Linked DNA regions of Homo sapiens: all the other regions are linked to region 1. The links are contacts of gene promoters, found by promoter capture Hi-C in blood cells and fetal thymus (Javierre and others, 2016). All regions are on one chromosome and are shown on one strand. Each heading gives the region's core, a stretch centred on a gene start or on the middle of the fragment in contact. The rest is flanking DNA. Distances are from core to core; before and after follow the strand shown. Region 1 holds the start of TMEM35B (transmembrane protein 35B). Region 2 overlaps ZMYM4 (zinc finger MYM-type containing 4). Region 3 overlaps ZMYM4 (zinc finger MYM-type containing 4). Region 4 holds the start of ZMYM4-AS1 (ZMYM4 antisense RNA 1). Region 5 overlaps ZMYM4 (zinc finger MYM-type containing 4).

Region 1 (2,700 bases), core at 164-2,663:
CTTACCCCTGCAAGGTTGTGAGTAGGTGGAAAAGATAGATCTTTTTTTTGAGATGGAGTTTTGCTCTTGTTGCCCAGGCTGGAGTGCAATGGCGTGATCTTGGCTCACTGGAACCTCTGCCTCCTAGGTTCAAACAATTCTCCTGCCTCAGCCTTCCAAGTAGCTGGGGTTACAGGCATGTGCCACCATGCCCGTCTATTGTATTTTTTTTAGTAGAGACGGGGTTTCACCATATTGGTCAGGCTGGTCTCTATCTCCTGACCTCAAGTGATCCACCTGCCTCGGCCTCCCAAAGTGCTGGGATTACAAGTGTGAGCCAACGTGCCCAGCTGGAAAAAGATAGATCTAAGCAGCTTGGGTAACTATAAATGGAAGCAGCAGGGGGATTTGAGACCCCTGCTTGGGGCCTTTCTGGCCCAATATACCAGGGCTTAGCAAACTTTTTAAATAAAGAGCCAGATAGTAAATATTTTCAGCTTTGCAGGCCATACTGTCACAACTACTCAATTCTGCAGTTGCAGTGCAAAAGCAGCCATAGACAATATGCAGATAAGTGTGGCTGTTTTTAAATAAAACTTATTCATGAACACTGAAATATGAATTTCATATAATTTTCCTATGTCACACAAGCTTCTTTAAAAAATGTTTTTATCATAAAAAATGTAAACAAACATTATTAGCTTGGGGGAAGGGGAGAAGCATGGAAAAAAATCAGACATCTGGCCAAATTTGGCCCATGGTTTGCCCATCCCAGCTTTAGACAGATTTCCAGGTAAGAGCAAATGGGCCAGGAGTGGACTGTAGGGCTTGGTTCAGTGAAAGCCTCTCTATCCATGCAAGTATCTGAATTTTCAAACACCTTTCACATTTCATTGTCAGCCGAGATAAATTAGAGGGAAAAGATATCTCAGGCAAAGAGACTTATTTAATAATTAATGGTTATTGATTTATTACAATTTTATAAATTAATTTACTAATTTACAAATAACTTTCTGAGCTCTTACATGTGCAGGCACTGTGCTAGGCCTGTTACAAACTCTGGAGAACTGAGTTATCCCCATATACAGATGCAGATACTGAGGCCCTTTGGGGTGGGTGACAGCTCAGATCCCACAGCTAGTGTGGCACAGGCAGGAACGAAGCCCGGGGTCTTTTGATGGTAGCTGAACCGCACCCAGACACCCACCCGTGTCTGCCAGCACTCCGTATTGGCTGGGAAACACTCCCTGAATCCAAAGGTGCCTGTTTAGTCAGTTACCAGCCAGTGGTCCTCAAGTGTCCCCACCTGTAAGATGGGGGCGCCCTGCCCCAGTACTGCAGCCTCGCGACCCCCTGGAGGGTGGGGGACGGTAGCTCAGGCGAGAGTCTTCCGGCTGCCCCGGGGAGGGAGGAAATGAGCCGGCGGCAGGGGCGGGTTTTCGGCGGGGCCAACCCACGGTGGGGGGAGCGCGGCCATGGCGCTCCTGCTTTCGGTGCTGCGTGTACTGCTGGGCGGCTTCTTCGCGCTCGTGGGGTTGGCCAAGCTCTCGGAGGAGATCTCGGCTCCAGTTTCGGAGCGGATGGTGAGCGGCGCGGGCGGGCGGCAGGGGATCGGGCCCGCGGCGGCGTGTGCTCCGCCCTGCCGCTCCTCGCCCCCGGCCCGGCAGGCCGCCTTCGGGCTTCCGAGGCTCAGCTGGAGCTGGGGGAAAGCGCCTGGCTTTCGACTGAGGCGCAGGTCCTGCCTGGGGAGTTCCTCGAGTTCTCTGGATCTTCCCTAGACGGAAGGGGACAGAACCTCCCCTTCCTGCAGAATATTGGTGGCCCCAGGCAAATCTAGAGCCTTAGGAGGTCCCTCCCACCCCCCCGGACCCTGGGGGAGGATGATGCGGTGGGAAAATGAGCTCACTTCCCGCTCTCTTCCCTCTTTTCGCCGTTTGCTTCAGTTTTTGGGAGGTTCGTGGGGTTGGGGTGTAGTAATCCTGGCTTTGCAGGGAAGGAAGCCCGCCCTGAAGGGCAAGTATATCTGCTAAAGATTGCACATCTAGTCAGGAAGCAGGACACAAGCTAGACACTCCTAACTCGGAACCCAGAGAGGGAAGCCTCTCTCGGAAGCCTGAGAGGGATGCCCTGAAGTCGTCTTTCAGCCTTCTGTCTAGTTCCAGACTCATGGGAAAGCTTTCATATCCTGTTCACCAATCTCCCCAGTCCCTCAAAAGAGCCAGACTTGTAGACCTCTGCTGGCATCTCTCTCCAAGGCCTGGATAAATCCCCAGAGACAGACAGCTTAGAGCTGCTTCCCAGCAGAGCTGAGGAGGGGAGGTAGAGCTGAGGAGTGGGAACAGGAAAAAGTATCCCCGAAAGTAAGGATGAAGTTGTCATTTGGCTCAGGGGAGGGCCTGCCTTGACAAGAAGAGTCACTTTGAGCCCACCTAACTCTGCCTCACCTCCAAATATTCCCTGTACAGCAGCCTTAAGAGAAACCAGGCCAGACACAAAGAAGGAAACTGTGGAATTCCCCAGGCCTTGGCACTAGGGAGCCAAGCCCAGCCCCCTCCTCCTGGGATTTGGGGCTGGGTTGTAATCTCTTGAGAGGTCTAGTGAGAAGATCAATCTCTGTACCACTTGGAGCATGGAGCCTGTTTCCTGATTCCAAAGCTCAGCGCCACAGGGCAGCCCTCTCCTCTTCAGGCTGACCTCAGCCCTGGACCTGACCTAGAGTAG
Region 2 (2,843 bases), core at 230-2,729, 320 kb before region 1:
AGGACTGCTGGAGCCCAGGAGTTCGAGGCGGCAGTAAGTTATGATTACGCCACTGCACTCCAGCCTGGGTGATGAGCAAGACACTGTCTCTAAAAAAAAAGAAGAGAAAACATGACAAGAATAGAGTCACTCAGCCAAGCATGGTGGCCCAAGTCTGTAATCCCAACACTTTGGGAGGCTGAGAGATCACCTGAGAAAAAAAATCTTAAAAAAAACAGAAAGAAAAAAGAATAGAGTCACTAAATATGATCATCAACAAGACATAACTCTATATGTGAAGCAACTAACAATACAACTTCAAAATACATGAAGCAAAAAACAGAACTAAAGAGATAAGTAAAATCTCCAACTGTGGCTGCAGATTTATAGTTCTGTCAGTTAGAACAAGACAAAAAAACAAGTAAGACACAGAAGATTTTTACAGCCCTACCAACCAACTTGACCCAAGTGGTATTTATAGAAACACTACACCTAATAACTTGGTATGCACTTTTTAAAGTTTACTTGTGGGCTGGGCGCAGTCGCTCACGCCTGTAATCCCAGCACTTTGGGAGGCCAAGGCGGATGGATCACGAGGTCAGGAAATCAACACCATCCTGGCCAACATGGTGAAACCCCATCTCTACTAAAAATACAAAAATTAGCTGGTCGTAGTAGCGCATGCCTGTAATACCACCTACTTAGGAGGCTGAGGCAGGAGAATCGCTTGAACCAGGCAGTCAGAAGTTGCAGTGAGCTGAGATTGCGCCACAGCACTCCAGCCTGGGGACAGAGCAAGACTCTGTCTAAAAAATAATAAAAAATAAAGTTTACTTGTGGAGGCACCAAGATACACTATATGCTGGACCATAAAAAAAGAGCATCGATAGAAATCAAATAATTGAGGCTGGGAGTGGTGGCTCACACGTGTAATCCTATCACTTTGGAAGGCCAAGGTGGGAAGATTGCTTGAGGCCAGAAGCTGGAGACCAGCCTGGGAAACATGGTGAAACCCCATATCTAAAAAAAAAAAAATACAAAAAAAAAATTAGCCAGGCATTGTGGCACACGCTATAGTCACAGGTACTCTTAAGAGGCTGAGGTGGGAGGATGATTTGAGCCCAGGAGGCAGAGGTTGCAGTAAGCTAAGATCGAGCCATTGCACCCCAGCCTGGATGACAGAGCCAGATCCCGTCTCAAAGAAAAAAAAAAAGAAAAAAAAATCAAATAACTGAAATAATAGAAAATACATTCTCTGACCTCAGTGGTATTAAATTTGAAATCACTATAAAACAAGATAATTACAATATCAAAAATTAGAAATTAAGCATACTTCTAAAGAAACTGTATGGCCGGGCGCGGTGGCTCACGCCTGTACTCCCAGCACTTTGGGAGACCAAGGCGGGCAGATCACTAGGTCAGGAGTTCGAGACCAGCCTGGCCAACATAGTGAAACCCCATCTCTACTAAAAATACAAAAAATTAGCCGAGTGTGCTGGTATGCACCGGTAATCCCAGCTACTCAGGAAGCTGAGGCAGGAGAATCGCATGAATGTGGGAGGCGGAGGTTGCAGTGAGCCAAGATCATGGCATTGCACTCCAGCCCAGGCGACAGCGCGAAACTCCGTTTCAAAAAAAAAAAAGAAACTGTATGGTAATGTAAGTAGAAAAATAAATCAGAGAAAACTCAGTAAATATTTTGAACTGAATGATATATAAACACAACTTACTAAGAGTTTGGGGATGCACTTAAAGCAGGGCTTAGAAATGTCTATAGCTTTAAACCATAAGTTATTGATATAACTTAAAGAAGGATGCCAAATCAAGAAGCTAGGAAAAGAAAGCAAAGTAAACCCAAAATAAGTGGAAAGAAGGAAATAATAAAGATAAAAGCAAACATCAATCAAATAATGATAAAAGCAAAAATAAATTAAATAGAAAATAAAGAACAGCATAAAAATCAGTGAAACCAAAAATGAGTTCTATCAAAAGATCAATATAGGCTGGGCGCTGTGGCTCATGCATGTATCACTTGAGGTCAGGAGTTTGAGACCAGCCTGGCCAACATGGCAAAGCCCTGTCTCTACTAAAAATCCAAACATTAGATCGGTGTGATGGTGCGTGCCTATAGTCGCAGCCACTTGGGAGGGTGAGGCAGGAGAATCGCTTGAACCCAGACGGCGGAGGTTGCAGTGAGCCGATATTGTGCCACTGTACTCCAGCCTGGGTGACTCCGTCTCAAAAACAAACAAACAAACAAACAAAAAACACAAATTGCCAATATCAGGAATGAAAGAGAGATCACCACTACAAATCTACAGACATTACAAGGAATATAAAGAAATACTATAAGCAATTTTTTTTCTTTTCTTTTTTTTTTTTTTTTGAGACAAGGTATCCCTCTGTCACCAGGCTGGAGTGCAGTGGTACCATGACAGCTCATTGCAGCCTCGACCTCCCAAGTTCAACTGATCCTCCCACCTCAGCCTCCAGAGTAGCTGGCACTACAGGCAATCACCACACCTAACTAATTTCTGGATTTTTTGCAAAGACAAGGTTTTTTTGTTTTTTTTTTTTTGCCAGGTTTCCCAGGTTGGACTCGAACTCCTAGACTCAAGTGATCCTCCCACCTCAACCTCTGGTGGAGCTAGGAATATAGGCGTGGTCACTATGCCCTGGATAATTTTTTTTTTTTTTTGGAGACAGTGTTTCCCTGTATTGCTCAGGCTGGTCTCAAACTCCTGGCCTCAAGCAATCCTCCCACCTCCAGCCTCCAGAGTAGCTGAGATTGCAGGCATGAGCCACCACATCAGGCTCTCTTTTTAAAAACAGCTCTTTAAAATGCAAAAGCCAGACTGGGTGCA
Region 3 (2,744 bases), core at 233-2,732, 340 kb before region 1:
ACAAAAAACGAAGAAAAATGTCACTCTGTAAGCCAAAGAATGAAAGCATCTGCCTACACTGAGAAGAATCCCATTGTTTAATAACAGTTTGTTTTTGAACAATACTGTCCCAAGGCCCGATGCTATTATTCCTTCTCATCTTATACAATATTTCTCATGACTCTCTATCCCCCTAGAGCTACTGCTCATTTTTCTCTTCCCCTTGACAGCAGAACTCTTCAAAGGAGTTGTCCAGCCGGGTGCAGTGGCTCACGCCTGTAATCCCAGCACTCTGGGAGGCCAAGGTGGGCAGATCACCTGAAGTCAGGAGTTCAAGACCAGCCTGGCCAACATGGCAAAAACCCATCCCTACTGAAAATACAAAAATTAGCTGGGCGTGGTGGCGGGCACCTGTAATCCCAGCTACTTGGGAGGCTGCGAGGCAGGAGAATCACTTGAACTCAGGAGGTGGAGGTTGCAGTGAGCCGAGATTGTGCCACTGCACTCCAGCCTAGGGGACAAAGCATGATTCCGTCTCAAAAACAAAAACAAAAACAAAACAAAAAAGCCAGGCGTGGTGACTCACGCCTGTAATCCTAGCACTTTGGGAGGCCGAGGCAGGTGGATCACAAGGTCAGGAGTTCAAGACCAGCCTGGCCAACATGGTGAAACCCCATCTCTATTAAAGATACAAAAAAATTAGCCGGGCATGGTGGCACACACCTGTAATCCCAGCTACTTGGGAGGCTGAGGCAGGAGAATCGCTTGAACCTGGGAAGCGGAGGTTACAGTGAGCCGAGATCACGCCATTGCACTCCAGCCTGGGCAACAGGGCAAGACTACATCTAAAAACCAAAACCAAAACAAAAAAAAAGTTGTCTATACATGCTGCCTACGACACCTGTCTCTTGAACCCACTTCAGTAAGGCTTCTGCCTGCACTATTTCTACTGAAACTTTTCTCGTCAAGGTCATAAGCGACCTCCACACTGCTAAACCCAATGATCTATTCTCACTCCTAAAGGAAAAAAGAGAACTAGAAGATGACAACCATTTAAGGTGAAAAAATTTGGATCACAATCACTACTTCACATCAACATTAATCCCAGATAAGTTAAAAATAAACTGAAAAAAAAATAAAAGCCCTAGAAGATAGAAAAGTCTTTTAACCAGAAAAAGAGATCTTCATGAAAAAGATTTTAAAGTTTGACTATATTTCTAAAAAATTGTTTGGAAAAGCTTAAAGGTAATATGAATGAAAAAGTTGTAGTAGTAGTATAATAATGGTTAATATTCTATGTATAAAGCAATCTTGGACTCAATTAAAGAGTACTATCCCAATAGAAAGTGATCAAAGAACATAAACAAGCACTAAACATTCAATCTTACCCAAAATCAAAATTGAGATACCATTTTCTCTCAGACTGGTAAAGATACAAAATGAAGAGAGACATAGAAATGTCCCTGTTTTTAAAAAACCCAATAGTATATCTTGGAAAATTATACAGAGATCTACTTCATTCTTTCCAGTGGCTGCACAGTCTCTTATTATATTATACTGATGAACATTTTAAGGTTGCCTCCTGCTTTTTTTTTTTTAAATGCAATATTGCAGTTGTCATCTGTATACATATGATATGGCTTAGGTATGTGAGTATATCTGTAGGATCAATTTCTAGAAGTGGGATCACTAGGTTAAAAAAGATCACTAGGTTAAAAAAATTAAATATTTAATTTTTTAAAATTTAATTCCTTCCAACTAAGCTTCATGAGTTACTGGGATTATAGGAACACACCACCATGCCCAGTTTATGACACTTTTTTTCCAAGTACTTTATATGATTTAATCCAATTTAATCTCCCAAAAATCTCATAAGGTAGGTACTGTTAACACCTCTATTTTATAGGTGAAGAAATGGAGGTACTGAGAGGTTAAGGGGAAGGACACACACACACACACACACACAGCTCTGAAAGTCTCCCAAGAAAAATGTCCAAACTTCTGTGGATATATAAGACTCTCCAAAATCTAGCCCTAATTTCCTCTACAGCTTTATCTTTTCCTGCCTTCACATTCCCATTACATCCCCATCCTGTAAGCAAATGCTCCAGCCATGATAAATAACCTATAGCTGCTCACCCAACCTTTCAGGTAGTTTCAAGCATCTGGGTCACTGTGCACAGTGCTTAAGCTTTTCCAGTCTTAATTCAATAGTAAACATATACTCAGCTTCAAGCTAAAGCTGCTACTCCTCTATGGTACCATAATCTCACACACAACCCACACACACCCAACTTCCCGAACAAAGTAGAATTCACAGCTCTTTCCTAGTGATACTACGACCAATGTGACTGTGTAACAACTATAATAACTTTACTCCCAAGTTGGGAATGCTATAAAGAATCAAGTACCCATACAGGTTTCTGAAGCTGTATGAGGTCATATCCCATTCTTTTTGTAGACCAACCTGCTGACAGATAACAGGGGTTATACAAACCTTGAGTTTTAATCCAACTTTGGAGACTAAACACAAAATCAATAAAAAGGAGCGCTTTATATAAAGACCTTTAGAATAATGTTAAAAATTAAAAACAAAAAACAATCTAGTTAGTTTCTTTCAATAGAACCTAAATGAAATCAAGATTCTATAAAGGATTAGAAATCCTACACTTCTCAAAGCCAGGGCAGGCAAAAGTGCACCCTGAAGAAAAAAACAAACAAAAGATTATTTTTCTGCTATAACAGTCTCGCAACACAGAACATTT
Region 4 (2,728 bases), core at 86-2,585, 380 kb before region 1:
ACTAAAATTACAGAAATCAGCGGGGTGTGGTGGTGCACGCCTGTAATCCCAGCTACTCAGGAGGCTGAGGCAGGAGAATCGCTTGAACCCAGGGTGGTGGGAGGGCAGAGGTTGCAGCGAGCCAATATTGCACCATTGCACTCCAGCCTGAGCAACAAGAGTGAAACTCTGTCTTTTAAAAAAAAAAAAAATTAATTAATTGTATGATGTTCAACCATTTAACAGCATTTGCCACATTCAACCTCTCCATCCATTTTTTAGAATATATGTGTAATAAGTGTGTGTATGTGCATGCCTATTATTCTTCTACAAAACTTCATAACCTAACCATTGATATTTTCATCAGAATTGCATCAAATCTAAATCTCAATTTTTTTTTTTTTTTTTGAGATGGAGTTTCACTCTTATCCCACAAGCTGGGGCACGATGGTGCGATCTTGGCTCACTGCAACCTCCACCTCCCAGGCTCGAGTGATCCTCCTGTCTCAGTCTCCCGAGTAGCTGTGATTACAGGCATGCACCACCACGCCCGGCTAATTTCTGTAATTTTTGTATTTTTTAGTAGAGACAGGGTTTCACCATGTTGGCCAGGCTGGTCTTGAACTCCTGACCTCAAGTGATTCGCCCCCCGCTTGGCCTCCCAAAGTGTTAGGATTACAGGCGTGAGCCACCGCACCTGGCCTTAAATCTTAATTTAAAAATAACTGACATCTACATATTTCTTACATTTAAAAAGATGGTCTCTTCATTATTTCAAGTTGTATTTGATATAAGTACTTTTTAGTTGCTGCTGGGAATAGTGTATCTTTTTCATTATATCATCTAACTGGGAAGTTTATTTATAGAAGTATTGGTATAATTCAACTAGGTACTCCACTAAATTTTCATGAATTCTATTAATTCTTTCATAAATATTCTTAATAGCAAGTGATAATTTTATTTCCCTTTTTCCATTATTTTTTCTTCTAATTTCTTTAACATGGATTGAAGTAAAAATCCAACAAGAGTTAAATAATAACGATGACATCCGCAACTTGTATTCTTTTAGTAATATTAACAGAAGATTTCCATCATTTTACTTCAACTTCAATAACTGTTACTGATCTGAAGTAGTAGTTCCTTACTATGATCAAGAAAAAATCTATTCTAAGAAATGTCTGAATTACATGAGATGTCTTTTGGCATCTAATAAAGTGACTATTACAGATACCCTTATTTGACCTGCTGATGAAATATATGTATTAAAAGATTTTCTAACATCGACTAATCATGACATTCCTTCATTATATAGTGTATTAAAGAAAATTTCCTTAAATATTTTTATTTTAATCTCAGAAAACTCCAGAAACAACCAATACTCATTGGCATACATTAACGGTCTGCAGTCAGCTCTCTTAGTCTCTGTGATGGCTATTGCAAACTTCTGCTGGATTCCTTTAGCCTTGAGTACGTATTATTTATGTAATATAGTAAAATAGTATACATCTTAAGTACTGTTTGTATGGTCCACAATGCCTTCAAGGCACAATCATGTTTGGTTTATGTTTGGATCCTCCCATGATCACTAATTTTACAAGTATTTGATAAACAAATCAATGAGTAGCCAAATACTAATAAATATTTTCTGAGAAGTAAATATCTAATTGGTAACCCAAAAGCTTTCAGAAGCAGAAAAACACATGCCAAAACACAAAAAAATTCCTTTACCAATACCTTTACCTTCTTAGTTTACTACAAATGAAGATCAATATTAATATCCCATGAAAGTATTTTAGAAATGAATAACACAGTTTCTATTGCCAAATTAACTCAATATGGCTAAAAGAGCCCCAACATTTGAATTACTACATTTTCTTTCCAAAACTGTGTGAATGACTATTATGACAATTAGTTCATTTGCTTTCCCATTTTAATTGAGTTCTTTCAATGAGAGACTACACATTAGCTCGTCCTCTATTATTATGAACAAGAAGAAAAAGAAATCATGACTTTAATGTAGTATTTACTGAATGTACAGTTTTTAGACCCTATGGAAAAGGCAAAAGAGGAAAATGAGGTCTCTGGCTCTCTTTAAAGTATCTATTTTGAAACCTTCCCTTGGTATTTTTAAAATTAAACAACTTTTATTTACAGAAAGATTGGTAGACTAAAAAAAAAAAAAAAAAAAAAAAAGACTTTGATTATGACCCCAGATTGGCTCCTTCCTGGCCATGAGGGCTTGAGTAACTAAATCTCTATATCTCTCAGCTCTCTCACCTATAAATGTTAACATCCTCTACTCTGGCCATCTTATACAGGGTTGTTAGGCGAATTAAGCAACACAGTACGTGTAAAAGCATCTGTAACTGTAAAAATACTACAGAAAACATTATAGAAACATGCAATAGAATTAGAATGAAGAAATGAAACTGTGAGACCCAATGACATTATGCCAGTAATAGAGGCAGGAGGACGGACAATGACTGGCAAATCCAGAATATCATAACTGAAGAAATAACCAAGAGCAAATGGGTAGAGGAAGTTAAATACATACACACACATTTCAGCACCTTGTTTATATAGTAAAGTAAAGAAATTAGGACCAAAATGAATTGTGTAAAAAAGAGAATTAGGAAGTGAGCTAAAAGCAAAACTACCTAAATTAAGCACAAAGAAAAGCCAAAGGAAGTTTTGAAAAGGTGCCATAAACTAAAGCTATGATTTTATTGAACCATGAAAGAAGTTACTG
Region 5 (2,923 bases), core at 150-2,649, 300 kb before region 1:
GAAAGGTCAAATAAAGATCTAAGAAAAGTCAAATAAAATAATCTCTGAAAAGCATCCATTAGATTTGGTGATTATTAGATCATTTCAGTGTTCCTAAAGAGAAGAATTTCAGTGCCAAAACAGAAAGATAAGCTAGGGCCAGGCAGGGTGGTTCACACCTATAATCTTTGGGAGGCAGAGGTGGAGGACTGCTTGAGCCCAGGAGTTCAAGACCAGCCTGGACAACATATGGAGACCCTGTCTCTACAAAAAAAAAAAAAAAAAAAAAAAAAAAAAAAAAAAAAATTATTTAAATAGCCAGGCACAAGGGTATTGTCTGTGGTCCTAGCTGCTCAGGTGGGTGAGGTGGGAGGATTGCTTGAGCCCAGGAGGTCAAGCCTTCAGTGAGCCGTGATCATGCCACTGCATTCCAACCTGGGCAACAGAGTACGATCCTGTCTCTTAAAAAAAAAAAAAAAAAAAATAGGCAGACAGAGGCAGGCAGGCTCAGGAGTGAATGGGAAATAAGCAACTTACACCATCTCATAAAGATTCTAACTTCAAAAAGCTTGTCTGAGTTCAGGCTGTGGTCTCCAGATAACATCTTCCACTGAAAGGTACTGAGGCGTCTTGCAAAACAAGTTAATTCCAGGTCTGAAGTAGCGTATGTATAGATGAGCCTGGTTCTATTTTTTTGGCGGACGGGGAGGAATCTTTCAAGGACTATTGGAGTTAAGTCAAAGGGATACAGGTGTTTCAGTATTTTTTTTTTCTTCTTGACTCTAATGTAAATGAAATTGTTTTCTTAAAATTTCCTTTTGGGATTGTTCTAGTGTACATAAATACAACTGATTTTTGTGTGTTGATGCCATATCCTGCAACTTTGCTGAATTTCTTACTAACTTGCACAGTTTTGTTTTTGGCATAACTTTAAGGGTATTCTACGTATAAGATCATGTCACCTTTAAATAGAGATAGTTTTACTTCTTCCTGTCCAATTTGAATGCTTTTTATTTCCTTTTTCTTGCTTAACTTCTGGCTAGAACTTCTAATACTACACTGAATAGACATGGTGAAAGAAGGCATCCTCATCTTGTTCCTCATCTGAGGATAAAATCTCTCAGTCTTTCACCACTGAATATGATGTAAGCAATGATTTTTCATGGGTAGCCTTTATCATGTTGAGGAAATTCCCCTCTTTTCCTAGTTTATTAAAGTGCTTTTACAAAGGAAAGGATGTTAGCTTTTCTTTAATACTTTCTCTGCATCAACTGAGATGATTTAGTCATTCCTCAGTATCTGTGGGGGACTGGACCCTGGACCCCCCAAAGATACCAAAATCCTTGAATGCTCAAGTCCCTTATATATAGTATTTGCATATAACCTACACACATCCTCCTATACAATTTAAATCATCTCTAGATTACTTATAACACCTAATACAATGCAAATACTATGCAAACAGTTGTTATACTCTATTTTTAAATGTTGTATTTTTTTTCCTCTGGTCCTTGATTAAGGAATAAATTTGTATTACCTTTTATTTTTTTTTCCAAATATTTTTGATCTGCAGATGTGGAACTCATAGATACAAAGGACAGACTGTAGTGAGTTCTTTTTTTTCTTCATTCTACTAATGTGGTAGATTATACTGATTGATACTTGAGAAAAATTTAACCAAGGAAGCACAAGACTTGTACACTAAAAGACCTGTACAAAACATTGCTGAAAGAAATAAAAGAAGACCAAAATAAATGGAAAGACATTCCATGTTCACAGACTGGAAGACTTAACATTGTTAAGATGACAGTAACTACCCTTGATTTACAAATTCAATTTTGATCCCTGTCAAAATCCTAATAACTCTTTTTTCAGAAATAGGAAAAAACCATCCTAAATTTCACGTGAAATTTCAACACACCCCAAATAGCCAAAACAATCTTGAAAAAAAAAACTTGAGGACTCCTACTTCCTAATTTCAAACCTACTACAAAGCTACAGTAATCAAAACAGTGTAGTACTGACACAAGAACAGGCATATAGACAAATAGAACAGAACTGAAAGTCTAGAAATAAACTCTCGCATTTGTCGTTGTTATGGTCTGAATGTTTGTATCCCTCCTCCCCAGATTCATATGTTGAAGCCTTAACCCCCCATGTAATAATACTTGGAGAGGGGGACTTTAAAAGGTAATCAGCTAGATGAGGTAGTGAGAGTGGAGCTCTCATGATGTGATTAATGCCCTTCTAAGAAGAAACACCAGAAAGCTTACACTCTCTCTCACCTCACAAACACTAAGAAATCACATGAGCACAGAGCAAGGTAGTGGCTACCTACAAGCCAAGAGAAAAGGCCTGAAAATAAAACCTACCTGTGGGCACTTTGATCTTGGACTTCCCAGCCTCCTGAAATGTAAGAAATAAATTTGTTGTTTAAGCCACCCAGACTATGATACTGTGTTACGACAGCCCAAACTGATACGATGGTCAACTGACTTTCAACAAGGTTTCCAGGACCACTCAATGGGGAAAGAACAGGCTCTTCAACAAAAGGTGCTATGAAACCTGGATATTCATACACAAAAGATTGAAACTGGACACTTACTTTGTACCATAAACAAAAATTAACTCAAGATGGATTAAAGACCTAAATTAAAGACCTAAACACTAAAACTCTTAGAAGAAAACATAGGGAAAAATCTACATGAACTTAGATCTAGCAATAGCATCTTAAATATGATACCAAAAGCATAAGCTACAAAAGAAAAACACAAATTGGATTTCATTAAAATTTAAAACTTTTGGCCGGGCGCGGTGGCTCACGCCTGTAATCCCAGCACTTTGGGAGGCCGAGGCAGGTGGATCATGAGGTCAGGAGATCGAGACCATCCTGGCTAACAAGGTGAAACCCCGTCTCTACTAAAAATACAAAAAATTAGCAGGG

What was found. Contacts are between HindIII fragments. The CHiCAGO score rates a contact against its expected background, and 5 or more counts as called.
Region 2: a contact is called between a fragment that was not itself captured here and the fragment with the promoter of TMEM35B in region 1, in 3 of 17 cell types (naive CD8 T cells, megakaryocytes and naive CD4 T cells). The highest score is 5.7, in naive CD8 T cells.
Region 3: a contact is called between a fragment that was not itself captured here and the fragment with the promoter of TMEM35B in region 1, in 1 of 17 cell types (megakaryocytes). The highest score is 5.0, in megakaryocytes.
Region 4: the fragment with the promoter of ZMYM4-AS1 here is called in contact with the fragment with the promoter of TMEM35B in region 1 in 1 of 17 cell types (megakaryocytes); the score reaches 5.4 in megakaryocytes.
Region 5: a fragment that was not itself captured here is called in contact with the fragment with the promoter of TMEM35B in region 1 in 2 of 17 cell types (fetal thymus and naive CD8 T cells); the score reaches 5.9 in fetal thymus.

The regions. Positions count from the first base shown.
Region 1 is chr1:34,984,060-34,986,759 of GRCh38, reverse strand. It overlaps TMEM35B (transmembrane protein 35B), which reads left to right and starts at 1,413. Exons shown (of 3, transcript NM_001195156.2): 1 at 1,413-1,562. The coding sequence starts at 1,455. It overlaps ZMYM6 (zinc finger MYM-type containing 6), which reads left to right. Exons shown (of 16, transcript NM_007167.4): 16 at 1-595. RefSeq lists silencers at 1,435-1,724, 1,785-1,854. The HindIII fragment of the contact is 1,524 bases long and covers 633-2,156 here.
Region 2 is chr1:35,302,810-35,305,652 of GRCh38, reverse strand. The region is part of intron 1 of ZMYM4 (zinc finger MYM-type containing 4); the gene reads right to left. Among named protein-coding and RNA genes, the nearest start is that of ZMYM4, 36 kb to the right of the region's middle. The HindIII fragment of the contact is 6,308 bases long and covers 1-2,843 here.
Region 3 is chr1:35,320,791-35,323,534 of GRCh38, reverse strand. All of the region lies in intron 1 of ZMYM4 (zinc finger MYM-type containing 4), which reads right to left. Among named protein-coding and RNA genes, the nearest start is that of ZMYM4-AS1, 44 kb to the left of the region's middle. The HindIII fragment of the contact is 525 bases long and covers 1,220-1,744 here.
Region 4 is chr1:35,364,684-35,367,411 of GRCh38, reverse strand. It overlaps ZMYM4-AS1 (ZMYM4 antisense RNA 1), which reads left to right and starts at 1,335. Exons shown (of 2, transcript NR_046659.1): 1 at 1,335-1,446. The region is part of intron 5 of ZMYM4 (zinc finger MYM-type containing 4); the gene reads right to left. The HindIII fragment of the contact is 9,120 bases long and covers 1-1,660 here.
Region 5 is chr1:35,284,135-35,287,057 of GRCh38, reverse strand. All of the region lies in intron 1 of ZMYM4 (zinc finger MYM-type containing 4), which reads right to left. Among named protein-coding and RNA genes, the nearest start is that of ZMYM4, 17 kb to the right of the region's middle. The HindIII fragment of the contact is 1,700 bases long and covers 550-2,249 here.